Regions from separate parts of the Homo sapiens genome. Here all the other regions are linked to region 1. The links are contacts of gene promoters, found by promoter capture Hi-C in blood cells and fetal thymus (Javierre and others, 2016). All regions are on one chromosome and are shown on one strand. The core of a region is centred on a gene start or on the middle of the fragment in contact, and the rest is flanking DNA. Distances in the headings are between cores, read along the strand shown.

Evidence for each region. The method cuts DNA at HindIII sites, captures the fragments that hold promoters and counts their contacts. A CHiCAGO score of 5 or more calls a contact.
Region 2: a contact is called between a fragment that was not itself captured here and the fragment with the promoter of MAP2 in region 1, in 2 of 17 cell types (M2 macrophages and M1 macrophages). The highest score is 6.9, in M2 macrophages.
Region 3: a contact is called between a fragment that was not itself captured here and the fragment with the promoter of MAP2 in region 1, in 1 of 17 cell types (M1 macrophages). The highest score is 5.7, in M1 macrophages.
Region 4: a contact is called between a fragment that was not itself captured here and the fragment with the promoter of MAP2 in region 1, in 5 of 17 cell types (M0 macrophages, megakaryocytes, M1 macrophages and 2 more). The highest score is 6.9, in M0 macrophages.
Region 5: a contact is called between a fragment that was not itself captured here and the fragment with the promoter of MAP2 in region 1, in 1 of 17 cell types (naive B cells). The highest score is 5.7, in naive B cells.
Region 6: a contact is called between a fragment that was not itself captured here and the fragment with the promoter of MAP2 in region 1, in 1 of 17 cell types (total B cells). The highest score is 8.1, in total B cells.
Region 7: a contact is called between a fragment that was not itself captured here and the fragment with the promoter of MAP2 in region 1, in 1 of 17 cell types (total B cells). The highest score is 7.2, in total B cells.

The regions. Positions count from the first base shown.
Region 1 is chr2:209,422,137-209,426,383 of GRCh38, reverse strand. It overlaps MAP2 (microtubule associated protein 2), which reads right to left and starts at 2,337. Exons shown (of 16, transcript NM_001375505.1): 1 at 2,108-2,337. RefSeq lists a silencer at 2,267-2,656. The HindIII fragment of the contact is 4,087 bases long and covers 1,172-4,247 here.
Region 2 is chr2:208,428,895-208,433,141 of GRCh38, reverse strand. All of the region lies in intron 2 of PTH2R (parathyroid hormone 2 receptor), which reads right to left. Among named protein-coding and RNA genes, the nearest start is that of PTH2R, 24 kb to the right of the region's middle. The HindIII fragment of the contact is 2,759 bases long and covers 1,164-3,922 here.
Region 3 is chr2:208,452,450-208,456,696 of GRCh38, reverse strand. All of the region lies in intron 8 of PTH2R (parathyroid hormone 2 receptor), which reads right to left. Among named protein-coding and RNA genes, the nearest start is that of PTH2R, 48 kb to the right of the region's middle. The HindIII fragment of the contact is 1,135 bases long and covers 1,301-2,435 here.
Region 4 is chr2:208,471,644-208,475,890 of GRCh38, reverse strand. The region is part of intron 9 of PTH2R (parathyroid hormone 2 receptor); the gene reads right to left. Among named protein-coding and RNA genes, the nearest start is that of PTH2R, 67 kb to the right of the region's middle. The HindIII fragment of the contact is 1,057 bases long and covers 1,535-2,591 here.
Region 5 is chr2:210,204,715-210,208,961 of GRCh38, reverse strand. ACADL (acyl-CoA dehydrogenase long chain) reads left to right here. Exons shown (of 11, transcript NM_001608.4): 6 at 3,166-3,330. Among named protein-coding and RNA genes, the nearest start is that of ACADL, 19 kb to the left of the region's middle. The HindIII fragment of the contact is 5,476 bases long and covers 1-4,247 here.
Region 6 is chr2:210,162,232-210,166,478 of GRCh38, reverse strand. The region is part of intron 1 of KANSL1L (KAT8 regulatory NSL complex subunit 1 like); the gene reads left to right. Among named protein-coding and RNA genes, the nearest start is that of KANSL1L, 7.1 kb to the left of the region's middle. The HindIII fragment of the contact is 1,984 bases long and covers 1,074-3,057 here.
Region 7 is chr2:210,004,018-210,008,264 of GRCh38, reverse strand. The region is part of intron 1 of RPE (ribulose-5-phosphate-3-epimerase); the gene reads right to left. Among named protein-coding and RNA genes, the nearest start is that of RPE, 3.5 kb to the right of the region's middle. The HindIII fragment of the contact is 1,306 bases long and covers 2,297-3,602 here.

The DNA of each region.
Region 1 (4,247 bases), core at 1,088-3,587:
TTAGAAAAGGGAAAAAAATAAGAGAGGAGATAAATAAAATAAAAATTAATATAACTAAAATATTATTTTATAAAAGGTAGCTCTATTTTTAAATTACTTAGATCTTCAGATGTGTGTTAAGCAATTTTCTACTTATGGTTTTAAAAAAGAAAACTTTGGACATTAAATAATATTGTAGCAAACTGTAAAATATGAAAAATTAAAATTAAATAAACCACAGATAAACAGCATGTACCACTGATCCTAAAGCCACAATGGCTCTGATAATATACAAATCATGAATGCAGATGTACACCTATGATAATCAGATGAAATTACCAGGAAATCAACATAAACATACACACACAAATATAATAATCCTTACTGAATGAGAAAAATGCCTTTTTTCTTGAAGGAAGGGTTCTTTGTGTGCATGGGGCTGGGGCTTTTGGAACATCCATGATTTGCAAATTCACAAGGATTTCTACCAAAATACACCTATTGCCCGGTTAAAGGGCTGCTTTGTGTTATATTCTGATGGAAGGCTGTAATCTTTTCCCTGGGCATAAAATTAAAAGCATTCTAAAGGGCTTCTATTTATTCAATCTATTTGACTGCCAAAAAAAATCATAATTGTCCACAGTGAAATGACATAGTGAAAGAACTATGCTTTTGAACTGGGCTGGTACCTGCAGCTCATGCATGGGACATTTTGCATAATGTGGCTCACATAGAAGGCTTTGTTCTCCATCGCCTCACTGTGGCTGCAAACCTCAATTTCAGTTTGCAATCATTTCCTTTTCTAGACTGATCATTTTAAAATAAATTATACCTTTAACATTTAAATTAGTTCCTTACCAACAGTCATCAATCCCTTTGCCTCACACCCAAAATTATATACCACCCAACAATATTTTTTTGTTTTGCACTACAGATTTTATTCACAACATAATTTCCAAACCCTCAAATACAATTTTAAAAAATCAGTCTCTTAAGTACCTATTTCCTTTTGTAACATGTATATAGTGTATTATACATTTGTGTGCATACTTGTGTGTTTAGGCATTTAAACAAAAACCCTTTACACCGGACTCAATTTTAAAGCGTCTATGTCCTGGAAGCATTGTGCTAAGAGCTTACGACAGATGGCACACAGCAATTGTCACAAACGGGCTTGTTGCTAATGAAAGCTTTTTATTTTCTGACAAAAATCCTGAAGTCCGGATGCCAGGCAGAATAACATTAATTTCCAGTTTTCAAGGATTTTTTTTCTGACTCCATCCATACCCCTCCCCCTATACACACCCAAATATACAGCTCCCCACTCCTAGCCCCCCACACACTCTTTCTTGAAATTTCCATCCTTAAACAAAAGACGAGGTGGGGGAAGGCAGGCAGCCAGCACTGCAGTCCTCCTCTCCCCACCAAAAAAGCCTTTTAAAAAGAAAAGGAAGAAAAGAATAGATGCACTGTAGATTCAGAGGTCCACCCCCAACGTTTAAAAAGAAAAACGACTGTGTGGAAGCCTAACCAGACTCATTTCTTCGTGCCCCGCCCTCCAACACCACCAGGCATTTATTTTTCATTTTCCTACAATTATAAATATCAGTCCTCCTCTCCCAGCTGTTTCTGAAGGAATTACAGAGAAACATGATTTGAAATGGACAAGGCTTCCCTCACTCACTCACTTCCCAGTGTGCAGTTCTCTGCAGCTGGATGAACAAAAAAATCCCCTACCTCGATTTCCTATTTTCCACTATCTTTGTAGAATCCACTCCCCTTCTTTCCACAGCGCAGGTAATACTGGCTTTCGATACACGTATTCTAACCTGGCGTAAGTTTTCAGTTGTTTCAAAGTGGTACCTAACAAGCTCACTCGCTCTTCTACGAAGCCAGGGCTCAGGTACCAGTAGCGTCCGGCCCCCTGCTCCGCAGTGACACCTGGAGAGGACAGGCCCGAATCTTCCGCCAGGTGCACGGCTGGCCACTCGACCAACTACCAGACTGCCTGCTGCGAGTCCCAGAGGACGAGACACAACCCCTCCCCATTCCTATCTCTTTCTACTCAGAGACCGAGGCAAAAGGAGAGGCGCCCTACATAGAGCCAGAGGTGGGGACGGTCTCTTACCTGGGCGCAGAAACTGGATGCACCCGCGGTCGCGACTGCCACCGCTCACGGACTTAGCGCCCTCCGGAGAAAAAGGAGAGGGGTAGAAGGGTTAGGGGAAGAAGGGGAGGGGGGGGAAAAAGAAGGAGAAGGAAGAGAAAGAAGCGGAAGGGAAGTAAAGGAAGAGAGGATGCTGCTGCTGCTGCTGCTGCTGCCCAGAGCCCGCGCAGCCCGAGCGCCCGCCCCAGACTGAGAGCGGCGCCCCCAGCCGGCTCCCAGCGCAGCAGCTCCGCCTCGGCCCCTCCTCCCCGCCCCGCGCAGGTCCCGCCCCGCGCAGGTCCCGCCAGACTCCGCGAGCCCGTGGGCGGCCGCGGCGGGGCTGGCGCTGCCACCGCCGCAGTGTCCGGGAGGGGGAGCACGACCGCTTCGCCTTCTGCCGCAGCCGCCGGCCGCCAGGCGGGGACCGCGAGGTGGGAGCCTCGGAGAGCCCCGCCCAGCCGCTGGCCCGGGCCTTCTCCAGAGCCCTGGTCCCCTCCCGCGACAAAGTGAGGCCAGTGCCCGGGCGGCGGGACAGGCGGGCCTTCCTCACTGGCGTCCTTGGAAAATCGGGGGCAACAGCTTTAGTCTCTCGGGAGCAACCTCCGCAGACCCCCTGCTTCCCTCCCCTGTGTCGCTATGAGGCGGGGTTGCCAGTGGCACCTCACCAGGAAAGCTCACTGGCCTCGCCTCACAAACCCAACCACAGGTGCATCCAGAAAAGACAAAGGAATGTGGGGCGCTTGAGAACATAGAACAACTCTTGTCAGCACTAAAGGAGCAATGGCTGAGGGAGTAGAGAATTCTAGACCCAGCTCTGTCACGAATTAGATTCATTCATTTATTGAGTCAACGAATGTTTATTGACACCTACTATGTGTCAGGCACTCTTCTAAGCATTAGAAACATCAGTGACAGACCTTTCCCACAACCCTAATAAGAAAGATCCCCTCCCTTTATAGTTATTACATTCTAGATAGCCAGACGTATGCTCTAGAGACAGTTCACTTAATCTAACTCTCAGTGTATTCATGTGTCATATGAGAACTAAAAATGACAGCCCAATTCTCTTATGCTTAAAAAGATAATGAATATGAAGGATCTTTGAAGAATGATACAAATACAATGAATTAGAAAGCACGGAAAGTGTTGACCTTGAAATATCACCCTTAAAAAAATTGCCTCTTAAATGCTTTTGAAAGTGAAATGACCACCTGAGAAAACAAATGATTCTTTACCATTCGTACTAAGGAGTATGAATCTTCATAATCAGAGAGCAGCATTTTATTGTAAGTAAGAAAAGTAAGATGCAACTTAGAATTACTTCGAGTGTCTATATCAAGTACTGACAAGGTGTTTTTAAGGTCAGCCAACATACTGAGGTGTGGCTTGTACAGTCTTCACAGTGCTGATGAAACAGCAGCCATAATGTGGTTCTGTCACTTAAATTAACCACAGAATCTTAGAACCTAGAACATTAGAGTTGATGTTTTAGGCAGCTGGTCTAATTTCCTCCATTTTCAGATGGAAAGAGACCCAATGGTGGGAGCCTGCAAGGATTAGAAACCATCACAGAGGAAGCTGTGAAAGCCTGCCCTCCCCAGTCACACCCAGTGCTCTGTGTCCTGCCTCCCCCGCTCTGCTTCATACCATGTGCCAGTGACGCTTGCAGTGAGTTTGGAAGTATCAAGGCACACCCAGGAGCTGGGAGGTTGGAGGAGTTGATGCTCCTCCTCGGAAGATGGCCTTACTGAGAAGGAGGTCTTAGGAGACTAGGAAATCATAGACAGTATGTGGATGGGAGGAAGGAGTAGGCATGCTACCAGAGTGTTAGCAGCTGACATTCATGACCAGGCATGCAGGCGCAGGTGCTCAATGAGAGTAATTTTCCAGGGCCAGGAGCGGTGGCTCACACCTGTAATCCCAGCAGCTCAGGAGGGAGTATCGCTTGAAGCCAGAAGTTTGAGGGTGCAGTGAGTTATGATTACACCACTGCACTCCAGCCTGGGTGACAGAGTGAGACCCTGTCTCTAAAAAACAGCAATAAAAAAGACATTATTTCTCTGATAGTTTAAAGTACAGTGTTCCTCAGCACTTTTTGTTTTTGTTTGTTTGTTTGTTTGTT
Region 2 (4,247 bases), core at 1,294-3,793, 990 kb after region 1:
TAATTTATTCTTTTATGTATAATTCATATGGTGTGTGACTGGTGCACACTTGCTTATCTTGACCCATCCTATTTCCTCTTTTGAAATGTCTTTGTGATGATTAATATTAGGGTCAACTTGATTGGATTGAAAGATGCCTAGATAGTTGGCAAAGTACTGTTTCTGGGTGTCTCTGTGAGGGTGGTGCCAGAGGAGACTGACATTTGAGTTAGTGGACTGGGAGAGAAAGTTAGTGGACCCTCATTGAGGGTGGGCACCCTCCAGTTGGCTAGAACAAAGCAGGGGGAAGAAGGTGGGATAAGCTGGCTTGCTGAGTTTTCATCTTTCCCCTGTGCTGGATGCTTCCATCCATTTATCCTATCCTTGGACATCAGACTCCAGGTTCTTCGGCCTTTGGACTCTTGGACTTACACCAGTGGTTTGCTGGGGGCTCTCAGGTATTTGGCCATGGACTGAAGGCTTCCCTGTTTTTGAGGCTCTTGGACTTAACTGAGCCACTATTGTCTTCTTTCTTCCCCAGCTTGCAGATGGCCTATCATGGGACTTCACCCTGTGATCATGTGAGCCAATTCTTTCTAATAAACTCCCTTTCACATATACTTATATCCTATTAGTTCTGTTCCTCTGGAGAACTTTGACTAATACAGTCTTACTTTCCTCTCATCACATCTAATTCCTACTTCTTTACTTTTAAGATGAGATAATTATTCTTCCAGGAAGCCTTCCCTGATTAATTAAGATTCATCTTCAGTGGTTCTATAGTTGTTAAAACACCTCTGTTGTTAAAATTATACACCATCCTGAAAGATGCCTGCCGTCCCTATTAAGCCATTAACCCCACAGGGAAAAGGCAGAAACTTATTCATACTTTTTAGAGCTTACTCTGGGCACATAATAATATTTGTTGAACTGTTAAAGGGACACTGACGATGATAATGTTGGCCTAGGTGATCTCTGAAATACCTTCTAGCTCAACAGTTTATAAGATTTCACAGAAAACAGCTTATCAGCCATCACAGATAATAATGCTTTCAAATTTTTTCATGATGATGTATCTCTTTGTTAGTAGATTTCCATATCTAAGATATTAGGATCAGCATTCTTTAGAAGTTGCACGAGTGATTCCCTTTTCAGACACTATTAGACTAGCCATTCAGAAAGCTTCCTCTTAGTACAAGATACCTACAAAGGCTATATTAATGTAAAAGCCTTCTTTCTTTAAATATGGCTTAGCTGGCTGTAAAGTAAAGGAATAAATTGTAGGCCAGAAATATAGGAGCAGCAAGCTCTACATTTGGGGTTTACCTTAGAGGCTTCTATTGACCTGTTTACTTAGAGTTTTGGTGGTGTTCAGGTAACAAAAGAAGAGCCTGAGGCCTGATGGGGTGGAGAAATTGAACAGGAAACCCCTCTAGAAAGTCAGTATCCCCAAAAGATGATACTTCTCCCACTAAGTGGGTGGGCAAGAAATAAAACCATCCTTCAGAAAGAGATTGGTTTGTGTCATTCTTGGCTACATTTGGAGTTGGAATAGAAAACAGTGGAGGGGAAATTCTTCTCTAAACATTTCTAACCACAAGCCTATATTTATGTGTGATCTAAATTTAGTTTAAATTGGACTTAGGTCAATAATTCATCTAGGCACCTTGCAGTTGCAAACACAAATTTTCTCTAAAGAAATGTTCTTTAAACAAGAACCTCATGAGTTGCTCATCACAAATCATTAGACACACAAGGAAATAAGCCACCATGTGTGGTGGTCAGCATTGACCAGCAGTCTATAGATATTACAATTATCATATGCAGCATATAAAGCATGTCTAGGAAAAAAAGAAGAGATTTGAAAGAATATTGAAGGAGCAAGAGACTATCAAAATTGAATACGAAGACTTCAGAAAATAAAAATATAATCAAAATTTACTAATGGATGGATTGAACAGTTGTTAGACAAAGCTGAACAAAGAGCTGGCAAACTGGAAAATATATATGAAGAAATTACCAAAATAGCAGTAAAGAAACAAAGAAAAGGAAAATACATAAGACATCGACACACAAAGAGTAGTATGAGTAGGTCCCATATTTGTCTTCTTAAAGTTCCAGAAGGAGATGAGAGAATAAAGGGGAGCAAAATTTCAGAGGCAAAATAACTAAAACATTCCAATCACCGAATAAAGATACAGATGTACAGATTCAGGAAATCCAATGAATCTATACCTAGATACAGAGTGAAACTGCAGAATATCAATGTTAAAGAGTTCTTAAAGAGAGCCAGACAGAGGCCGGGCATGCTGGCTCACACCTGCAATCCCAGCACTTTGGGAGGCAGAGGCAGGCAGATCACGAGGTCGGGAGATTGAGACCATCCTGGCTAACATGGTGAAACCCCGTCTCTACTAAAAAAATACAAAAAACAAAAAATACAAAAAAATTAGCCGGATGTGGTGGCAGGCACCTGTAGTCCCAGCTACTCGGAAGGCTGAGGCAGGAGAATGGTGTGAACCCGGGAGGCGGAGCTTGCAGTGAGCCAAGATCATGCCACTGCACTCCAGCCTGGGTGACAGAGCGAGACTCCGTCTCAAAAAAAAAAAAAAAAAAGAAGCCAGACAGAAAAAGCTAATCACCAACAAAGGCTGAGAATTGATTTGTCAGTAATAACAATGGAAGCTAGAAAAAAAAAAAATGGTATCTTTAGGTGATAGAAGTAAATAATTTTTAGCCAAGGATCATATGTCCAGAAAAAGTATCTTTCAAGGTTGACACCAAAATAAAGACATTTTCCAACAGACAAAAACTGAGATCACTATAAACATATTCTAACATAAAGATTCAAAAATATATAAATAAAGGACATTTTATTCAAAGAAGAAAAATTATAATAACATAAAATTAAGGTAGAACTAAAGAGCATATAATTTGGAAGCAATTAAAGTATCTCAAATTGTGTTTATTATTTGGAAAAAGGAAGAGAATGATAAACTTTAAACTTTCTGAAATTAAATATATGTGAAAAATTTCTAGGATAACCACTAAAGGAATTAAATATAATACATATCTTCCATACTAGTTGGCGGTGGCAGGGGATGGAATAAAATGAGAAAAATGTCTCAATCAATCCAAAAGAGAGTTGGAACTGGGGAAGTGGAAGGGCAGAGGAAGAGCTGGTGAAACAGACAGCCCACATGAGATTTTAGAATTAAACTCAAATACTGTATATTAGTAACTACAATTAATGTAGTTGAGCTAAATTCTTCAGTTAATAGACAAAGATTATCAGAATGGATAATGAGAAAAACTCTATGTGTGTCCTGTTTGTAAAAGATACTCCTGAAATGTAAATATACAGAAAAGTTTAATAAAAGAATGAGGAAATATGAGTTGTTATTTAATGGGTACAGAGTGTCAATTTAGATGGAAAATTTCTGGAGACTGATTGCACAACAATGCGAATATACTTAACACTATTGAGCAGTACAATGAAAAAAATTTTAATGGTAAATTTAATGCTATGTATATTTTATCACAATTAAAACATTTTTAAAGGATTGGAAAAGATATACAAGGCAGATACTAACCAAGAAAGAAGGAAACTAGTGTTTTAAATTTTTTTAAATATAGTAATTTTAAATTGTACATATTTTTTAAATATGAAGGACAAGTATCCTAGAGATAAAGAGGGCTACTGTATATCTACAAAAGGTTTAATTCACCAGGAAATCTAATATTTCTAAACTTAAATAACCTCCTAACATATTTTCAAAATATATGAAGTAAAAATATCCAGTGAATTTTTCAATGAAAAGTTGAAATATTCATCATCATAGTAGCATATTTTAAGATATATATATCTCAGAAAATAATAGGTCAAGCACATTTTAAAAATCATTATGGATGCAGAATATATGAACCACACAACTAACAAGCTTAATCTAGTGGACACTATAAAACATTGTACTCAGAAACTAGAGGGCATACATACCTTTGAAGACCACATGGAAAATTATCAAAATTGACAAAACTATAAGACATTAAGTCTCAACACTTTTTTTTTTTTTTTTTTGAGACAGAGAGTCGCTCTGTCACCCAGGCTGGAGTTCAATGGTGCGATCTCAGCTCACCGCAACCTCCACCTCCCGGGTTCAAGCGATTCTCCTGCCTCAGCCTCCTGAGTAGCTGGGATTACAGGCATGCGCCACCACGCCCAGCTAATTTTTGCATTTTTAGTAGAGATAGGGTTTCACCATGTTGGC
Region 3 (4,247 bases), core at 619-3,118, 970 kb after region 1:
AAGGTCTGACTAGAAAGTGGAACTTCCTACAGCCAGGGTTGAAAACAGGTGTGTTGTTCTGCCCAAGGGATCCAGAGAATTGAATTGGCTGAGCACTACCTTCTCTCCACAACTTACAATCAGTAAGAGTAGAAGAAGCGAAAGAAGCTGACCCCAAAAGCCTGTGCAGATGTTCTAGAAATGTCAGATGGCTTCTTGGTCCTTTGCAGCCCCCACCTTTGCTGCTGGATGGTGAAACAAAAATACAGCAAAGAAGTTATGGGTTTCTTCTCTCATTGGCATCTCTTATCTCCTTCGAATGAGGCAAAGAGAAGATAATCAGATTACCGTGTAAGGTGTTTTTGCTTTTGTAAGTAAAAAGAAAGAGAACAAAATTGCTCACTTTTTAATTTAATTTGCCCAACCTACTTGATTATCTTAGCTGACCTTAGTAAAATAACACTCTTTTTTTTTTTGAGACAGAGTCTCCCTCTGTTGCCCAGGCTGGAGTGCAGTGGCGTGATCTCGGCTCACTGTAGCCTCTGCTTCCCCAGTTCAGGCGATTCTCCTGCCTCAATCTCCCAAGTATTTGGAATTACAGGCACGCACCACCACGCCCAGCTAATTTTTTTTGCATTTTTAGTAGAGACGGAGTTTCACCATGTTGGCCATGCTGGTCTTGAACCCCTGGCCTCAAGGGATCAGCCTGCTTTGGCCTCCCAAAGCACTGGGATTACAGGCATGAGCCACCTTGCCCAGCCCAAATAACACCTAATAGAATTTTAAATCTGAAAGAGACTTCTTTTGTATATCAATAGAGTTTAAGGTATCTTTTAAAACTGGGTCTGACATGCTTATCTCCAAATAGCCAAGATGCAGAGAAAATCAGAGGTTTCACTTTGAAAGGCCAGATTAGAAAACATTGAGTCTCAAATATAAGACATGAATATGAACCCCATTCATCCTTTGAAGATATTTAAAATCTGTTCTCTCCCCAGAGTGTTGTCATATGGCGCTATATAGGTCAGATAACACCCAAGAAAACCCACAAAAACTTTATCTATAGAAAAGCTGAATTTTATGTGAAGTTGAATCAGGCAATTTTGAAATCATCTCAGAGAAGTGGCAACACAGTTTATGTTTACAGGCAAAATTAAATATAAAATGACCCTTCATCCAATTATCCCAGATCTGGGCACTGTAGAATTCAAGATTTTATTCTGATAAGTTAGGAAGAAAGTGGAATATTTTGCAAGGTGGTCACATGATATAACTAATTGAATGAATGAGTCAAAATTCTGCTTCAGTCTAGCGGTAAGCTTTGAGAATGTGTCCTGATGTCTCTGGATCACATTTTACTTATCTCTAATATGGGATGATTGAACCAGAAAATGCCTTAAGTCCTATCATCTCTAAAATTCTGAATCTAGGTCATACAGTTACACATCTCAGAATATGATCATGATAGCATTAATTAGTACCTCTTTACTGATGCAACTTCCCTCCCATGTAAATCAAGTAACAGGTATTGCAAGTTTTCTTTGAGATTTGCAATCTCACTGTGTGTATATAGCAATAATGATGTCAATTAGATAACATCAACCCTCAATTGTTAACAAATTCAAATAGCATAAAGGGATCAAAGTAAGGAAAAATGCAAAGCCAGCAAGTTTTAGAACTGAGGGAAGCTGATGAATGGGGAGCTTTGAAGCAAGTAGGAGGAAGGCTGCACCTAAAGACAATGACTCTGTACAGTTCTAATTTTCAGGAACAGTGAGTGACAGGTTCTTTATAGAGTTTAGGTATTCACAGTATGTGATTTTTTTTTCAGTGCATAGCAGACAAAATAATTCCTGAAGGAAATATCTAGTAACTCAAAACAATATATTGGCTTAAATAAAGTTCCCAGGAGATAACAAAAAGGGAACTGCTGTCACAAAGCGTACACAATCTGTGGATATTAAATTGTTCTCTATTAACATAAAAGAATGCTTGGCATTACTGCATATATAGGTTAAAGCTGCCTCTCTTTAAATTACCTTTTCTTTATCATAAGTGTGTTAATCTGCTTGACGTGTGATAGCAAAATACCACAGGCTGGGTGGCTTAAACAATAGACATTTATTTTCTCAGTCTGGAGACTAGAAGTTCAAGATCAGGGTGCCAGCATGGTCCTGTTCTGGTGAGACCTCTCTTCTTGGCTTGTAAGTAGCCTCCATCTCACTGTGTGCTCACATGACCTCTTCTTTGTGTGCACAGAGAGAGAGGGAGAGCCAGCCTCTCTGGCATCTCTTCTTATAAGGACACTAATCCTTTCATAACAGGGCCCCACTCTCATGACCTCCTTAACCCTAATTAGGTCCTTATAGACCCTATCTCCAAATAGAGTCACATTGGGGGTTAGGGCTTTAACATGTGAATTTTGGGAGACATAATTCAGTCCATAGCAATAAGCTTGACCATGAGAGCAAAGCGCAGTTACCTGAATGCTTTTCTACTTTTTCCTATTCTTTCTCATCATTATTTAAATAGAAATAATACCAAAAAAAAAAGAATTTTTTCATGTTCATTCATCATGTAGCCCCTCAAGAGAAACACAGACAACTGGGGGGCTCTGGCCAAAGTCCATTTGAGCCAACTGAAAGCCTTTACCAGGCAGCCTCCCTGCAGTCAGCCCCGGAGGCACTTGGGTCAGACAGAAGTAAAGGGCGACTTACAAGCTATCAGACACTTATAAGGAATGATAGGAGATGGGCGGTCAAGATTTTTTTCTGTTTATATATAATGATCGGGCCTTAAAAGTTACTGTTTCTTTACGCACAATGAAGGTAACATTTATTGTTTGTCTAAAATTTGGAGTTTACAAAGCCCTTTCATAATGGCCTCTCATCTAATTCTCAGATCTGTCCCCTGCAAACTCACAGCATTAGTCATGGCCAAGAATATTATTCTCATCTCACAGATGGAAGACTGAGGCTGAGAATGACTGCTGCAAGTCATGAATGGAAGAAAAACCACACCTCCTTATAACTCACAACTTGCATTAACTCAAACTTTATCATTGCTTAATAGATATGGAGCAAAGAGAGAAAAAATGGTCAGCCGAATCCAGAAGAATTGATCAGCATGCACTGAAGAGTTATCTACTGTAAAACAGGGAATTTCATTTATGCCCATTTGGAATTCATGGTTTGTTGGAAAAATGAGACAGTTACACTTGCACATTTAGAGAAATAAGATGATAGATAAGAAAGGAATAATTATATAATATGCATACTAAATGCTGCAGGAATTTGATAAGGAAGATTTATATGGTAGAATAGTAGATTTCAAACGCACTAACAAGGTAGAGCATTTGTAGTTATGGTTTTCACCATGAAATGCAGATATATTTAATTTTATCATGTGAATGAGAAAAACATATGCCAGGAGACAACACTGCATGTATACATGCAATACAAATACACAGGCATGAGCTTATATGTCAACAAAAAATGGGAATTGTTGAAAAGTTAATGGTAGGTGATAACCTATTTCTGATTTAGAGAACAGAAAGAACTAGAAGTTTTACCTCTCTGAGGTAAAAAGACAAAAGGCTAGACATAGTGAAGATAAGAGAAAAACTGTCTAGTGTATGCTGGACATTTTCCACTGTGTACTCTTGATTACCAGATGTGTTAAATCAACTGAAGAGTGAGAAGCTATCAGTGATACTGTAGAAAGAATCCCTCTTCAACTCTACTCCTTCACATATAATAAAAATTCCACTTATCTCAATAGAAACACCTCATCCGCCTGTAAGTGTTTTCTGAATGCCTCTAGAGCCTGAATATCTGAGATCAAAGTACTTTTCTACCATTCGTGGCTGTGCAACCTTGAGCACAACTTCTCTGACCTCAGTTTCATAGAGTTAATAATGAGTTTTAACTTACTTAATATTTGCAAAATTATGAAGTACCTGGAATGTGATCAGCACTCAGAAATGCCAGAAAATGTTTTCATTATTACTTTCCTCCAACATCACGTATTATTACCCAATGTTCTGGTAATTATCTTCACAAAATGCAAATTTGCTGTCGTTATCACTGAACGAAGACCAAACATCCTAATCTGGCCTATGAGGGTCTATAAGGCCTCCACCCCTCATCTTTTCTACAGCCTAATTTATAAGCTCTAGCTTCAGCAGAACCAGGGTTCCATCAACTTGACGGGATAAAAATCAAAATATTATAAGCTAGGATTAATGGAAGGATGAGTTTGGCTTTCTA
Region 4 (4,247 bases), core at 814-3,313, 950 kb after region 1:
ATACAATGAGCAAACCCATGATAAACACCACAAACTGTTTATTGACCAGAAAGATTAGTTCTTAGCTTGGATACACAATGATGATGTGAGGCATGATGAAACAAACATCTAAAAGTAAGTAAATATATGCCAATAAAAAGTGACCTGAAAAAGAAAGAATCTCCACTGCCCCATATATTCCTAATACCCATCAACATCTCTAATGCAAACCACAAGGTGTCAGTTACGTTAGTTCTCTGGAGGGTTATTTAAAGGTCAAAATCTCTGCAATAATGTTGTCAGATAAACATTGGACAAGATATCCCCAAAATGCTTCCCAACTTGAACATTCTTTGATTCTATGAATTATTTTTATGGAGTTGCCAGAAAAGGAACTACTGCCTGAACTACTGCAAAAAATAAGCATATGAATTCTAAAGTCTCAATGAGTGCCAGACCCTAATTCCCTAATAGGTTTTATGGTGTGTTTGTTTTTTTAATGCCAGTTAAGGGTTGCTTTAAACACTGAGTTTAGGATTTTCTCTTTTATTACTCCTATTCTGTAAGCATAGCTTAGATGTATGTACTATAAGAAAGGTGACCCTGGAAGAAATTTCTATTATTCAAATATAAAAGATATGTCATTAAATTAGTTATACATTTACATTTTATGACAATATTTACCTTTTCTTGGTTCTTTAAAAAAAAGTTCTCCTTGTTGCATTTTCACATTTTAATTCAGCTAAGATGAATCAACTCATTATAAAGGAAAATATTTTGAGACTTTACAGCATCTCCAAAGAAATGGATTTAAATGAATGGAATATGTGGGACTAACTCTCATCAAATAGCAAAAACCATGGATTGCCATCACGCTTGCTGCCCAAGCTCACCAGCTGCTGCAGCACTGATCTCCTTCCATTACTCACATCAGCAGCTGACAGTTATTTACAGTTGTTACCATTTTAATAAAACTCTTTAATTCCTGTCTCTTTCTTAGAAGGTTGCATCAAGAGTACAGTCTCTCATACAGATGTCAGAATCAATCAAACAGGACTATGCACTTAAAGGTGAATAGTACCTCTCTTAGACATTTGCGTCTCCAAGCTAGTTCATCTTCTCCATCCATCATAACACCTCTAGAGTTTTCTTTTTAAAACCCAAATCTGACCCACTTACTAACCTGCTTAAAATATTTTGATGTCTCATCACAATTTTAAGGAAAATTCCAATGTGCTTTAGCATGACATGTGAGTCCACTCCCATCAAACTCCACAGTCTGATCTCCTGCATATTCTGCAGATGCATTGTTCCTTCCAGCCATAGAAAACATAACATGCCCACTTGGCATGGGCTAATCTCTATGCCGGGAAAACCCTTCTCTGCGCTTTACCTATTAAGTGATTTAGGTAAGTGATTTCTAGTCTTCCTTTATAATTTTAGTTCAAATCTCACCTTCTTGGTGTTTCCTTTATTAAGCCCTCCAGACAGAGTTTGGTGTTGTCTCTTCCCTATTCTGAACTTCATGATGGCGTCAGAAAGACTTGGATAAGCTTATATCACTACTACATGAACCACCATTTCTGTTACTACACCTCTACTATTACCACGCTACCACTAGTAGTAGTATTACTGCCGTATTATAGGCTACTATTTACTGAATGCTTTTCATAGGTTATATTAAGCCCTTTAATAATCTTACATAGTCCTCCTAATAACCCTATGAAGTAGATATTACAATATCCAATTTCCTTTTTAGAAAACTTCATTTTAAAAGGGGCTAAATCATAGTACAGTCAGCAACTGGTTAAGAGTTCACACAGGATTCATACACTTGTTCACACAACTACCAACCCTATAATAAAAACTATTATGAGTTGCACCTCCTCTGCTAATGACCTGTATGACCTTGGATATGAGTTTGACTGCTTGTAGACTAGTAAAGTTAGTAAGACTCAACAAAATCTAAGATACCCCCAGCTCCAAAACCCTATAATTCTAAGTCACATACTTCTCTGTGTGCCGGTATTGTCAGTTATAAAATTGAAACAATAATATGGATATATTTATGCCAGTTAACTATGAAGAAAACTATATTTTAAATGATTGTAAGGTACCTACATGTGGCATGCTTATCATATAATCTTATGATCCACTATAAGTAATATCATTAAATATATATTTATATTTTCATTCAGCCAATATTTCCTAGGCACCAATAAAGGTCAGGCATTCTAGGAAAATAAAAGAATAGATCATCCCTCCCCATGAGGAGCACACAGGGAAGACAGAGCTAGTAAGTAAAATGCAATACGGTACACTTCTAAAGTGTCTGATCACATGAAACACAACTAGCCTCCCACAACCATGTGAACACCCACTGCTTACACTGGCCAGGACTTTTGTGTAATTTCAGGTTTCATTGTTAAAGGAATTTGTCCAGTCCAGTGTTCTCCAAATAAGTCATTTAGGGTGCCATCATCATGATTTTGCCATATTGATATTATTTACCTACTATTGCCTACTTCATATCTTTCTTCAATCAACTTTCATTAAATTATTAAAATTCATATTTCATACCATTAAACATAAATAAAGAACCAGTAGAAGCTTTTATAAATAAAAGACAACTGTGAAATACATATGATGGAAACAAAAAGCCTTATGAAATGTTATCTAGATTGGGTTGCCTGTCTTACCTCCCCCTACCCCCAAAGAAAGACACCACACATGTGAGTGTTGTTCAAGACCAGGACCAAAATAAAACTTTCTCCTTGATGTGTTCAGAAGGGTTGGAAATGGACCAATATTCATATATGATTCAATAATGCTTAATGACCTTGCATATACCACCTAAGTCCTCTCATGCACCAGGGTATGTGCCCCTACATAAGGAAACACTGCTCTAGCTTAAATCCTATGGCAAGAAAGAGCAAAAACTGTGGGCTCTGGCATGGCATTACCTGGGTTTGACCTTGGCTTCAGCATTTTCTAAATGTATAACCTCAGGCAAGTTACATAACCTTTCTTGAACCCAAACTGGGAATAATAAAAATACCTACTTAAAAGTTATTTGAGGATTAATGCAAAAAAAGACTCTGAAATATGCTTGAAACAAAAACAGACTCAAACATTTATTCATCAGATGATTAATAAAATATAGGAGATTAACTTTGTTAAGAGACAAAGGAAGACTGTATTAGTCCATTTACATGCTGCTGATAAAGACATACCTGAGACTGAAAACAAAAAAAAGGTTTAATGGACTTACAGTTCCATGTGGCTAGGGATGCCTCACAATCATAACAGAAGGTAAAAGGCACATCTCACGTGGTGGAAGACAAGAGAAGAGAGCTTGTGCAGGGAAACTTCCCCTTATATAATCATCAGATCTCATGAGACTTATTCACTATCATGAGAATGGCACAGGAAAGTGACCCCATGATTCAGTTACCTCCCACTGGGTCCCTCCCACAACATGTGGGAATTCAAGATGAGATTTGGAGGTGAGGAACTTGTTGCGAACTGGAGCAAAGGTGACTTGTTATCTATTATCAAAGAGACTGGTGGCATTTTGTCCCTGCCCTAGAGACTTTTGGAACTTTGAACTGGAGGGAAATGATTTAGGTATCATTCCACCCCTGGACTCTCCCAAATCTCATGTCCTCACATTTCAAAAGCAATCACACCTTCCCAACAGGCCCCCAAAGCCTTAACTCATTTCAGCAACAGCTCAAAGTCCACATTCCAAAGCCTTATCCAAGACAAGGCAAGTCCCTTCTGCCTATGAGTCTGTAAAATCAAAATCAAGTTAGTTACTTCCTAGATAAAATGGGGGTACAGGCATTGGGTAAATACAGCCATTCCAAATGGGATAAATTGGCCAAAACAAAGGGGCTACAGGGCCCATGCAAGTCTGAAATCTACTGAAGTAATCAAATTTTAAAGCTCCAAAATGACATCCTTTGACTCCATGTCTCACATCCAGGTCATGCTGATGAAAGAGGAAAGCTCCAATGGCCTTGGGCAGCTCTGCCCTTTTGGCTTTGCAGGGTATAGCCCCCCTCCTGCTTCTTTCACAAGCTGGCATTGAGTGTCTGCAGCTTTTCCAGGCACATGGTGCAAGTTGTTGGTGGAGCTACCATTCTGGGGTCTGGAGGACAGTGGCCCTCTTCTCACAGCTCCACTAGGCAGTGCCCCATTAGGGACTCTGTGTGGCAGCTCCAACCCCCATTTCCCTTCTGCACTGCCCTGGCAGAGGTTCTCCA
Region 5 (4,247 bases), core at 606-3,105, 780 kb before region 1:
GCAGACCTCGTCTGCTCAGCCATAGGGTTTTGTGGGAACCACACAGGAAAAGTACCACTGACTCTGTTTCAAAAACTCTATTAGAAATAGCAAAAAACTGAAAGCAAGTAAAAGTAAAGGAATGGGTAAGCAAATACGGTGCATCTGAACGAATGTGCAGCCATTAACACTAGCAACACAAAGTTTTTAACAGTACAGGAAATAATTATACATTAAGTGAAAAAACAGGATATAGAATGCAAGTATAGGAACATTTTTACTATATTAAAATTTAAAAATATGAGAAAGGAAATTATCAATGATAGTTGTATTATGTACTTATGGAGAATTATATTTTCCTTTTTCTTTTGAACTTTACATTCTCTATACAATATCTGCAATGATTTTCTGTTATTTTATAAGCATTTAATATCCTCCTACCACCCAAAAATGTTGGCCCTCATTAGGGATAATTTCAGCCCTATTCAAACTTTGGAGTGTCATAATTAGGAAACAAACTGAGAAAGTCCACTTGCAAGGAAAATTCTCATATAACTCTATTAGAAAGGGGGATCCACCATGGTGTTTAAACTCACTTTAGGTCGCACTGTTGTAGAAATGGTTCAGATTTTATTAATCCTTTGCTATAATTACTTCCAATAAGAACTTCTGGAGAACTCCACTTGATTTACCAAATTGAGCTCAGCATATTAAAATGAATAGTTTTTGCCCAATGAATTTCTCCTCCCTTCCTTTCTATTCCATTGTTTATTTATTATCTGTAGTTAAAACATGTATGAGACCATTTGAGAGCATACTGTAGATACTAATTCCTGGATGCTGTGTGATGCAAAACAAACAAAAAAGCACTCATAGCATTTCAACTGTGGCAGCTATACAGACATTAGGAACTAGACAGAAAGGTAGGAGCTTGGTAGACTTATAAGGTTTTTGAGCAAGGGAGTCGTGTAATGGAGCAATACTGTTGAAAAAATATTTTTGCCAAGTTGTATAGAATTTTTTTGAGGAACATCTTTTTCAAAATATATTTTTAAAACATCCTTTGGCCTCCTCTGTGCCAAAAAGAATTCTAAGCACTTAAGATAGATATATGAATAGGAAATGGCTATGAGCTCCTAGTAAGGAGGCACGTTGATGATCTTTTATTATTGTGTCACCTATAACCATACTGCCACCACTATATTCATTTGCTGTTGTGTAGACAACACTAACATTATTTGCCCATTTTTCATTATTTGTATGTATCAGTGCTGTGCATTTTAGGTGATGGGAGTAACCAACATCATTTTATACCCCTACTATTTCAAAGAGAGAGAGATAAAAACAGATCATTTTGGTAAATTTGAGGTGTTGTAGGACCGCTTAACCCAGCCTGGAGAATTTGAGACCTTTTGGCCAATCTGATGTCTAAACCACCCAGGATGAGTACAATTCATTGCAGCAGAGTTGGGAAAGGGCCTTTCCCAAGTAGCAGAAACAAGATTTTCAAAGACTCATAGGTCAGGAAGACCTCGCAACGTGATGGACAGCAAGTAGTTTAGTAGAGCTGACTGAAGAAGAGGAAATTGGGGAAAGTGGGACAAGCAATAAGCCAGGTAAGGAGAGGTAAGCTAGTGCCAGTTTGTGATAAGTTTTCTATTTCCTGCTAAAGGTTTTGAATTTATCCTGAAGCCTATTAGGAGCTATTCAAAAATTTTTAAGTGTGAAGGTGATATGATCAGATTGCATTTAGAAAAATCTCTTTGACATCATGATGAATGATACAGCTGTAGAGAGATCAGTTGTAGGAACTTAAGAAATGATGAGGGCTGGAAATAAGGTAATTACAATAGACTTGAAAGGAAGTGAATAAATTCCAAAAGTATTAAGATGGGTTAGAAAAAACTAGATGCTGAATTGAATATGAAGCAGGATGATAATGTAATTTATTGAAGCATTCATTGAGATAGGGAAATAGGTTGATAATCAGGATTGGATAGGAGTAGGGGTGGGAAGGAATATGTCCTGCCCATGAGTCATCAGGTGGAACTATCCAGAAGCAAGTACTTATTCAGGTCCAGGTCCTATCAAGAAATGTGGCTTACCAGGAGTTTGAGGCTGCAAAGAGCTATGGTCACACCACTGCACTCCAGCCTGGGTGAGAGAGACCCTGTCTCTAAAAAAAAGAAAAGAAACATGGCTTAAATAAAGATTTGGAGACATCAGCATGTAGAGGGTGACTCAAGCCGTGAAAATGATTGAGATGAACCAGGAAAGATGCAGAATGAGAAGATAATTATTAATATTTGCTCTGAGTATACTGTTTTCTGTATCAATATCATCTGATAATCCCTCTCATTTGGCTTGTCATTTTTCCCTCCTTAATCATAGTTTCCTATTTAGACCATTTTAAAGGAAGCAGGATATCAATTACAAAAATCAAAAATAGTCCTTTTCAAAAACTGATAAATCTGAGAATAAATAATATAGTGCCATTTACAGCAGATTTTCTTTCTTTTTATTTTTCTTTTATTTTCTTTTCTTTTTTTCTAGAGACAGGGTCTCACTCTGTCACCCAGGTTGGGGTGCAGTGGTACAATCATAACTCACTGTAACCTCAAACTCCTGGACTCAAGCGATCCTCCTGCCTCAGCTTCCTGAGTAGCTTGGACTATATATAGGTGCACACTACCACATCAGCTAATTTTTAATTTTTTTGTCTCTACTATTTTGGCAAGGCTGGTCTTGAACTCCTGAGCTCAAATGATCCTCTTGCCTCGGCCTCCCAAAGTGCTGGGGTTACAGGTGTGAGCCACCGGGCCCGGCCAGATTTTCTTTTCTTATCAGTGGCTTCCTTCTAAAATACAATTTATCATCATAATAGACAATTTGGTTTCATTTTTAAAGAACATAATAATCTCTGTTTATTATTATTATGTATAATATTAATAGTGAAAAGAAAATCTATAGGTTTCATTCTTTGAAGCATTAAGTAATTTTTCCCCTGATCCTTGATAACATCATGTGTGAATAATCAACTTTGCAGATATTTGGGTAGGGTACAGAGAGAGGTATCAAGCATGTCTTGTCTGTTTTAGTTTTCTGTAATATACTTTCTCCCAATCATAACTTGCACATAGAATTGAATTATCATGGTGCATTAATAATGTACTTGGGGTTTTGCAGGTGTTCATCAGTAATGGGTCATTAAGTGATGTTGTGATTGTAGTTGCGGTCACAAATCATGAAGCTCCCTCCCCTGCCCATGGTATTAGCCTTTTTCTGGTGGAAAATGGAATGAAAGGATTTATCAAGGGACGAAAGCTACATAAAATGGGATTAAAAGCCCAGGTGAGTGATAATGTAAATCATATTCAGATACTAATTGAGTTTACTGTTAATCAGATAGGAGACTTACATAGAGGATTACATGTGGCACAATTTTATTTCCTATGCTGAATTCCTAAAATATGCTTTTCTGATGTGGTAATGAGATTTATTCTCATTTATACCACTCTATCTTTCTGATGGTCAGCAATAGAAATGAATCAAGGTATTTTGAATATCTGTTTTAGAAATGGCAAAATTAACTGCATGGTAACAAGCCATCTATTTGTAAAATGCATTAAAGAAAAATATGAAATAAAAATAAAGTGTGGCCAGGCACAGTGGCTCACACCTGTAATCCCAGCACTTTGGGAGGCTGAGGCCAGCGGATCACCTGAGGTCAGGAGTTCAAGACCAGCCTGGTCAATATGGTGAAACCCCATCTCTACTAATAATAAAAAATTAGCTGGGTGTGGTGGCAGGCACCTGTAGTCTCAGCTACTCGGGAGGCTGAGGCAGGAGAATCACTTGAACCCAGGAGGCAGAGGTTGCAGTGAGCCAAGATCACGCCACTGCACTCCAGCCTGGGCAACAGAATGAGACTCTGTCTCAAAAAAAATAAAACAAACAAACAAAAAAAACCCAGAAAATGTTCTTTCTATACATTACCAAAAATGCATGTTTTGCTTAATATGTATTAGAAATCCTTAGTTCCAAGTACCTTGAGAACTGGACAGTATTAGAGCTGGAATGATAGTGTATTGCAGTAGGAAAGCCACAAGGTTTAGAATCAGATGGCTGTGGGTTCAAATCCCTGGTTTACCACTTACTAGTTATGTTCATTAACTACTCCAACTTGGCTTCCAATTTGTGTTTTGTTTTTTTGGAAAAAATAATATTCACTTCAATATTCACTGGGTTATTGGAAGATTTAAATGAGA
Region 6 (4,247 bases), core at 816-3,315, 740 kb before region 1:
CTTATATAGATTATCAGTTTCAACTCTGAGCGTTGAGATTAGATTAGCAAATTTTTTATTTTTCTTTAGAAAGTTTGTCAAAAATTTTTTGAAATATGTGACCTATGTATTAATTTGTAAAGGTCTGATTATTAACTGTCTGGACCAACTCAGTAACTATTGACTTGGTAATTATCTCACTGTGTACATGCACCTTTTGAGGATGATGGCTTTTACTGTATTTCATGATGTCCAAGGGATCAGATTGCATTTAATTAATGCTAAATTCATAAATATGTATGGTTTAGAAATCTTAAAAAATATAGATTAAACTCCTAATGGAAAGTCTGGAGACAACAGGGCAAGACCTTTTATTTGTAGTACAGTAGTCCATCTTTATTTTTGGGGTATATGTTTCAGATCCCCAGTGGTACCTGAAATCGCAGACAGTACTTAACCCTATATATACTTTATTTTTTTCTAACCATACATACATATGATCAAGTTGAATTTATGAATTAGGCATAGTAAAAGATTAGCAACAACAGTAGTAGAACAGTTATAACTATACATAAAAGTTATGTGAATGTGCTCTTCTTGCTCGCTCTCAAAATATCTTACCTTACTGTACTCACCTGTTTTTGGACTGCAGTTGACCACAGGTTACTCGAACCATGGAAGTGAAACAGCTGATAAGGGGAGACTACTGTTACACAATTTCAGAACAACTAATAGTAACTCATGCTTTCCTTAACTCACAATGAACGTTCTTTGGATTAAATTGTAGACCCAAAATTAGAATTTATGGTATAGATTTAACTTTACAGTCTACCTATTGTTTTTATCAGATTAACTTAATTTTATTTATAATAATTTCAGAGCAACTAATAGCAACTAATGCCTTAATTCACAGTGATTGTTCTTTGGATTAAATTGTAGTCTAAAAATTAGAATTTATGGTGTAGATTTAACTTTACAATCCCCCCTTGTTTTTATTAGATTAATTTTATTTATAACAAATTTAATATAACCAAAAACAAAAAAATTGATTCTTTCTAGTTTTAAAAAATGTTTATTATTTAAAAACATAAGCTTTGTCTTGTCTTACTGAAATTCTCTCTGGTGTTTTTTAATAAGACTTCTTAAAAAAACCGGAGATACACTGAGTTTGGAATTGCTTACTGGAGGATTATTTACTTGATAGACTATCTGTAACAGTTTTATAACAGACTGGTTTTTGTTTTGTTTTGCCATCCATAACATTTCTGGGCTGCTGATGTGCTAAGGAATTTTTTTTGTTTTTTGTTTTTTGGTTTTTTTTTTAGTAAAATTGGAATGTAAGTTGAAAATTCTGTTGTAAAAACGTAAAAGTATGCCAGTGCTTTGGTGGGCAGATCACGAGGTCAGGAGTTCGAGACCAGCCTGGCCAACATGGTGAAACCCCATCTCTACTAAAGATACAAAAAATTAGCTGGGCATGGTGGCATGCATCTGTAATCCCAGCTACTTGGGAGGCTGGGGCAGGAGAATCGCTTGAACCCAGGAAGCGGAAGTTGCAGTGAGCTGAGATTGTGCCATTGCACTCCAGCCTAGGTGGCGGGGCGAGACTCCATCTCAAAACAAAAAAAAACAAAAAAAAAAAAACAGAAAAAATAAAAGTAAAATTTATACCCAAGAAACATAGTTGGTTTTTGGATTATCTAGAACTGTTACCTATTGACAGAATCAAGATTATGTATCTAGTTGCTTTCTTTGAAAGAGGACTGATATATTTTCATAACTTAGTTTTGCTTCTTAAATTCTGTAAGTTTGATATTTTCATTTCTGTGTGTTGTGACAAAAAGTTTAATTCTTTTTTCCAGTTTTCTTCCTTCTAGGTTCTTCGAAGTTCTGCATCATTAGACTAAATTCTTTTAGAAAAGGGACCTCTTGTTCCTAAGTATCTTGGGTGTATATGAAAGAAATAATCATCAAAGATGATGGTGGTGCCTAGAGTAATATAATAAAGTATTTTAGTAGTTGTAAAGACATTTCTTAGATTTAGCAAGGATCCAAATACTCCTGCCCAATTATGTGTATAATTGGAAACCTAAATAATTAGAAACTGAGTATTTATAGGAAGATCCAGGTGCTTTTTAGAAAGCTATTTGAGGATTTATTTTCCATAAACTTTCCATAAAGCCTAGAATACTATAGGTGCCTAAAAATATTAAACAATAGATTTGGCCAAAAAATTGGGGGACTGAAATATAGTAGTCGATAGTTGATCCCTGGTTACAAGACTTGGCACACATACAGAGGAATAGAAAATAGCTTATCAAGATGTTTATGTATTGATTACATGTTGATATATGATACTTTATATATATGATGACATTAAATTTAATTTTTCATGTTTCTTTTAAAAATATGTCTAGTAGTAGCAAGTTTAAAATTACATATGTAGCCACTTCATATTTCTATTGGACAGTTACATTCTATACTAATGTTTCCTAATTTTTTTGCCTTGAGACTCCTTCACAATAAAATATATCTCATGAACCTTCTTCCTTGAAATTTTAAAATAATTTTACCATTTTGGATAGTATTTGTTCAAGAAATATTTATTATGAGCCTGCTATGTGCCATAAAATATTCTAGAATACGATGATGAGTGAACACATAACACCTGCCTTCATGTAGCTTTTGATCTATTTGGGGAAAATATGTGATGAAGTAATTTCTAGTAAAAATTTTTAAATGGATCATTTGTTATAAGTATACTATTGTATATAAAATTTCATGTAATATAATTTTATATATTTCTTCATTTATTAAGTGATAGTTTGGTGTTCTCTGAGCTTCCTGGATATGTGGTTTGGTGTCTGACATTAATTTGGAGAAATTCTTAGTCATTATTGTTTCAATTTTCTTTTCTTTTTCTCTTCTCCTTCTGGTATTCCCATTATGCATATGTTACACCATTTGTAATTGTCCCACAGTTCTTGGTTGGATAGTCTCTTCTTCCTCAAACCCCCTGCCATCTTTGTTCTCTTTCCTTTTTAGTTTTGGAGGTTTCTATTGCTGTATCTTCAAGCTTAGTGCTACTTTCTTCCACCACATCCAGTCTGCTACTAAGCCCATCAAAGACATTATTTTTGTTGCAGTGTTTTTGATTTCTAGCATTTCATTTTTATTCTCTTTTTAGAATTTCCATCTCTCTTCTTACATTACCTGTCATTTGTTGCATGTTGTCTGTTTTTTCCATTAGAGGCCTTAGCATATTAATCATAGTTGTTTTAAATTCCTGGTCTAGTAATTCCATCATTCTTGCCATATCTAAATCTGGTTCTGATGCTTGCTGTCTCTTCAAACTATGTTGTTTGCCCTTTAGTGTGCCTTGTCGTTTTCTCTTGAAAGCTGAACATGATGTGCTGAGTAAAAGGAACTCTAGTAAATAGGCTTTTAATAAGATGTAAGGATAGAAAAGATGTTCTGTATTCCAGTGATAAGGTCTGTCTTTCAATGAGCCTGTGCCCTGGGCTGTGAACTTCACTAGTGCTTCTCAGTTTTTCCCTGCTTAGGTAGGATAGAATGGCTAGAGGCTGCTGGAGTTGGATATTTAGTTAATATGTAACCTTTTAAAAGCAATACATTCCTTAAAAAGTAATATCGGCTTTGCTATCTTCATCTGCTTGACCTGTTTAGCATTTGACAGAACTGACCATGTTATACACTTCTAAACACGTTGGTATCTTGATTTCATACACTTCTGGATTTCCTCCTATCTCGATGATCTTTTCAGTTTTCTTTTAGCGTCCTTCCTCTTTTATAGCTCCTCTTCCTTTGCTCAAGTAAATGTGAGTAAACCCCCACGTTTTGTCCTGGGCTCCTTTCTCTTTGCTTATACCCACTCCCTAGGGTAAATACTATTTATATGCCAGTGACTCTGCAAAATAATCTCTCTAATTATGAATTCTTGCTTGAACTCCAGACTTGTTTTTATAGCTGTTTCCACTTGAATGTTTAAAAGACACTTAAAAAGTAACATATCCAAAACAGAAATTTTTATTTTTTTCTTCTTCAACTTTCTTCCTCCCCAAGTCTGCTCCCTTAGGTCAGAAAATAGCACCACTGACCACCCAGTTGCTCAAGCTAAAAACCTAGGAGTCATCCTTGATTCCTTCCTTTCCCTTAATTCCTGTTAAGTCTTTGTCAAGCATTGTTGACTCTGTCTTGAAACAAGTTCTTTAATTTTTTAATTTTTATTGATATACATATATATATAT
Region 7 (4,247 bases), core at 1,700-4,199, 580 kb before region 1:
TGCAAGTACCATACTAGGTGCTTCAGAATACTGTTTTGTAAAGGAAATACGCTACAGTTCCTATGACAGAGATTGACAGCTAATGAATGACTCACCAGAATTCACAACCCTACTGCTATCGTATAGTTGTCAGTGGGATGTCAACTCAGTCAAACCTTTTCATTCCCAGTTCCCTTTATATTCAAGTGGCCCATGTGACTTTACATCCCAGTTCCCAGTTCCCTTTACATCCAAGTGGCTCATGTGACTCTCACCACCAGACTGTGAGTGCAAGTAGTGTGTCACTGCAGAGCTCAGAAGGTTAAGGAGAATTCCTTTCCTATTGCCACTTTACCCTTCTGCCAACAAAGCCCTTACAGAATGGAAGAGCCACAGAATGGAATAACACTCACACTGAACTCTTTTATGAATGAGAAACTAGAATGCTAAGCTACTGAAATCTGGGCTTTGTTAAAGCAGCAGGTATTATCCTATATGAGGATTACAAGAAAAGCTATACAATAACAGGCAGGTAACGTGATTATAGATAAAACATACATAAAATAAGAGCAAGTATTAGAGAACGTTAAGAAAGAAGTTCATGAGATTTACAAAATAGGATTTATAAAGATGGGAAAAGAAACAAAGGCTGAAAATGAAGCAAAAGCAGAAATAAGCAAGTTACAGTCAAAGACGTGGAGAGTGGTATTGACCAACTTTGGCTAGTGTAAAAAAAAGATGGGAGGTTGGTAGTATCACATTAAAGGTGTCAAATGCCAAGCTCAGTGTCTGGACTTTTGTCCTGCTGTAAATATGAAGTAAGATCTTAAAGTGAGAAATATTAATAAATAAGATAGGATGGGAAATAAATTACAAGAGGGTAGGTGACTGCAATTGCCACTTGGTAAGTGGCAAGGAACACTAAGAATGACAAGACAGGCAAAACTGATTGGATCTGTTAAATGATTAGGTGTGTGGGAGGGGAGTTAAAATACAAACTATGTTTAAGGTCTCACAGTTAGATGACAGGTAGAATGAGTGCTAATAAAAACCAAACTTATATGTGGGCCACACACAGTTCTAAAGACTTTCTGTATATTAAATCATTAAAACCTCACAACAACCCTATGAGGTAGGTACTTTTATTAACTGTATTTTACAGATGAGGAACAGAGGCCCAAGGTCACACAACCAGTAAGTGCTGGAGGCAGGAATTAAACATAGGCACTATGGCTACAAAGTCCAGACTCTTAACTACTATGCTCATCTGTCCCTATAATGACAACAAACGAAACAAACAAGGGGAAAAAGTCTAGCGGAGAAGAGATTCAAGAGAGAGAGGTAAGGATTCAGGACACATCTGAGAGGGACACATAAGGTGGATGGGAACAGACACTTTCACTCAATAACACCTTGGTCTTTGGAGGTTTAATTTCTATCATTAAAAAAGTGATTCTAACATTTGCCTGAGCAATGATTGTCAGGGCTGTGGATAAGATGCATGTGTTTACTTAGAACTTGAAATAAGGGTCACAGAAGCAGGCAGTAAGGCCTATTGAATGTTTTACAATTCTGGAATTAAAGATCTGAATTTCACATACTGTTCTTTTAATTTGCTGTGTAGTCTGGGAAATAGTTTCGTTGTCTTAACAGTAGGTTTCATTTATTATGAAAATAAAAGTATAATAACCACCTCCCGAGTAAATAAAAGAACCAAAAAAAATACACTTTTACTTTTTTGGGAAAACCTAAACAAAACGTATAAAAATACTAACCCCAAAGTTACGTGACTTAATTTGTGCTTTTGAAAATCAATTCAATGCACTAGGTTCACGAAGTATATTGGAAGAACAAGAATGCATCAGTAGTCTCAAAAAAAAACCCAAAGGCTACGCTAAGCCATAACAAAAAGGGGCTACAATCCTAAGCACGAAGTCAGGGTGTCCCAAATTTGCCAAACAGTAACCATGAGAGCAGTTCTAATGTATTTACAGTCTCTACCTCAGCCTACTGACTCCAAAGAGGACCGGGAATCTGAATTTTGAACAAATGCCAGAGGGAGTTAACAGACCAGCTTGGAAAACACTTAATTATTTCACTTAACAGAGAGAAACTTCACTAAAAAGTCTGCTTCATCATTATCTTATTCTGCCTCTTTTTCCTTTAAGTTATTTCCTGGAGTTAGTTAAGTGTGAAAGAAATAAAATAAAATAAAAAGGTATCCCTTTCTTCCAGGGACTTACTGGAATTACACTATAATTTTTTGTAATACAAGGATACAATTTTCTCTCTCATGTTCCATCATCACTCCTAAGCTTTACTTACGTAATTCTAACACAATCTACTGCAGACAGATCAAGCCATTTACCCTATCTCCCAACAAGGCAAAGATGGTAAGAGGAGGATTAGAGTTGCTATAAAAGGTACAGGACTGTAACTAGAACACAATCTTCCTGTGAATCAGGAATCACAAACTCAATGCTGCTGAGAGTTAGGTAACATCAAAGAGCAAAACAGAGCAGATAGGGAAAGGGGCCAAATGAAGTACACCCCACATGACTAAAGGTGAGGCTGCCCCTGTCAGCTCCAGCGCATGTCACCTGGTAAGACTGAGGGCCCAGTGCTAGCAAGTCTTTGAACTGTTTTTTTTTTTCCCCCAAAAGTCAGAAATGCAGTATTAATGTGAAATCGTCCCAGTTTTAAATCCTGGTAGCGAATTTAGAAATTAATTCTTTGCTCTGTTCCCATGGTTAGGATGAACACATTCTAGTCACTGTCCTGTCATGATGCATTTATGTGTTTTCTAGGGTTTTTTTCCCCCAGAGAATCCACTTGTCCTTTGTTTCACATATCCAGTCATGCTAGTGCTCCACCTTCCACAGTATTCCCCAGACTGGTTTCTGACTTTCTAAATGAAGAAATTCAGTTGTAATCAGGGGAGAAATTGGAGGTCTTAGTGGGGAGGAGACTAGAAAACAATAAGCACATCCAAAGTGTAATGTTGGATGAGATTTTTAAAAGGGGCCAGGAAAAAAAAAACACGAAGGCAGTCCTGGGAGGGAAGGGACATTGTGGCTGGCCACATTTCAAAAAGGAGTCCACAGCCCACTTTCATAGCCCTAGCCTAGTAGACACCACAGCACATCACGTAGGGGCACTGGCACCAACTCTGCCAGGCTCTGCTGAATCTGGTGAGACATCAGGGAAGAAGCTGAATCTCCCTACACTGGTTTCCTCCTTTGCAAAAGGGGAATAGAAACAGCTCTTAACTCAGAAAGTAGAGAAGATTAAAAGGGAAATAATTTTAAAATTGTGTATGCAGAATTCAGTTTTTCCAAACCAAAGTATCTCCTGGCAAAGGGGAAGAGGAATCAATAAAAAACAAATACTTCATTTTTTATTTTTTTGTTCCCAAAACTCTGATCCATGGTAAATACTTTGCCTTACTGAGCTCAGTCTGCCATAGAGCTGCAAGGGGACAAAAGTGACTTCTGAGAGACTTCTCCTATTATGATTAAGCTATTCATTCATTCGGCCAACAATAACTAAGCACCTTATGGTGCTTTTCCAGCAAAGAATATATAGGTGAGCAAAAAGAAGATAAACTTGGCTTTCAGGAAGCTTATAGGGTAGCAGGAGAGACATGAAATAAGTTAACAAAAATAAGTATACAGTTAACAGAAATAAATACACAAATTATTAGTTGCTTTTTTGAGGCCAAACAATGTCTTAGTCATTCCCTGTAAGCCTAGGAACCACAGAAAGCATTTCATTTGAGACAACACAAGCTGTTGCATTGCTTCCAACCCTGGCTCCACCATTTCCTAGTTATGAGACCACTGGCAGATGACTTAACCTCTCTGTGCCCAATTCCTCGCTGTCAAATGCTGGTGGTAATAACACCACCAATTTCAAACGGTTGTTTGAGTTAATTCACAAAAAAACTCCAGAACAGAAACAGTCAAGTGCTCATAAACATTGCTACTATGGTTATCATTAATAATCCTGACTGGTGAACCGAAACAATTACTTTCCCCAACCATTAACTTACTCAAACATAGTTTAATTAAAACCAAATTGCTCAAATAGACTCACAAATATACACATAGCTGTTCCATCCTGTGACCCTCTAGGTATTTTCTCAGGCACAAAAATGTAGCTACTTACCTTTGAGGTAGACACTCAGGGTATTATTACCTGTGACAGTTTAGGGCTTTCAAGCAAAGATGTCAAAAATAAAGTATATAAGTATAATTACATATAATGGC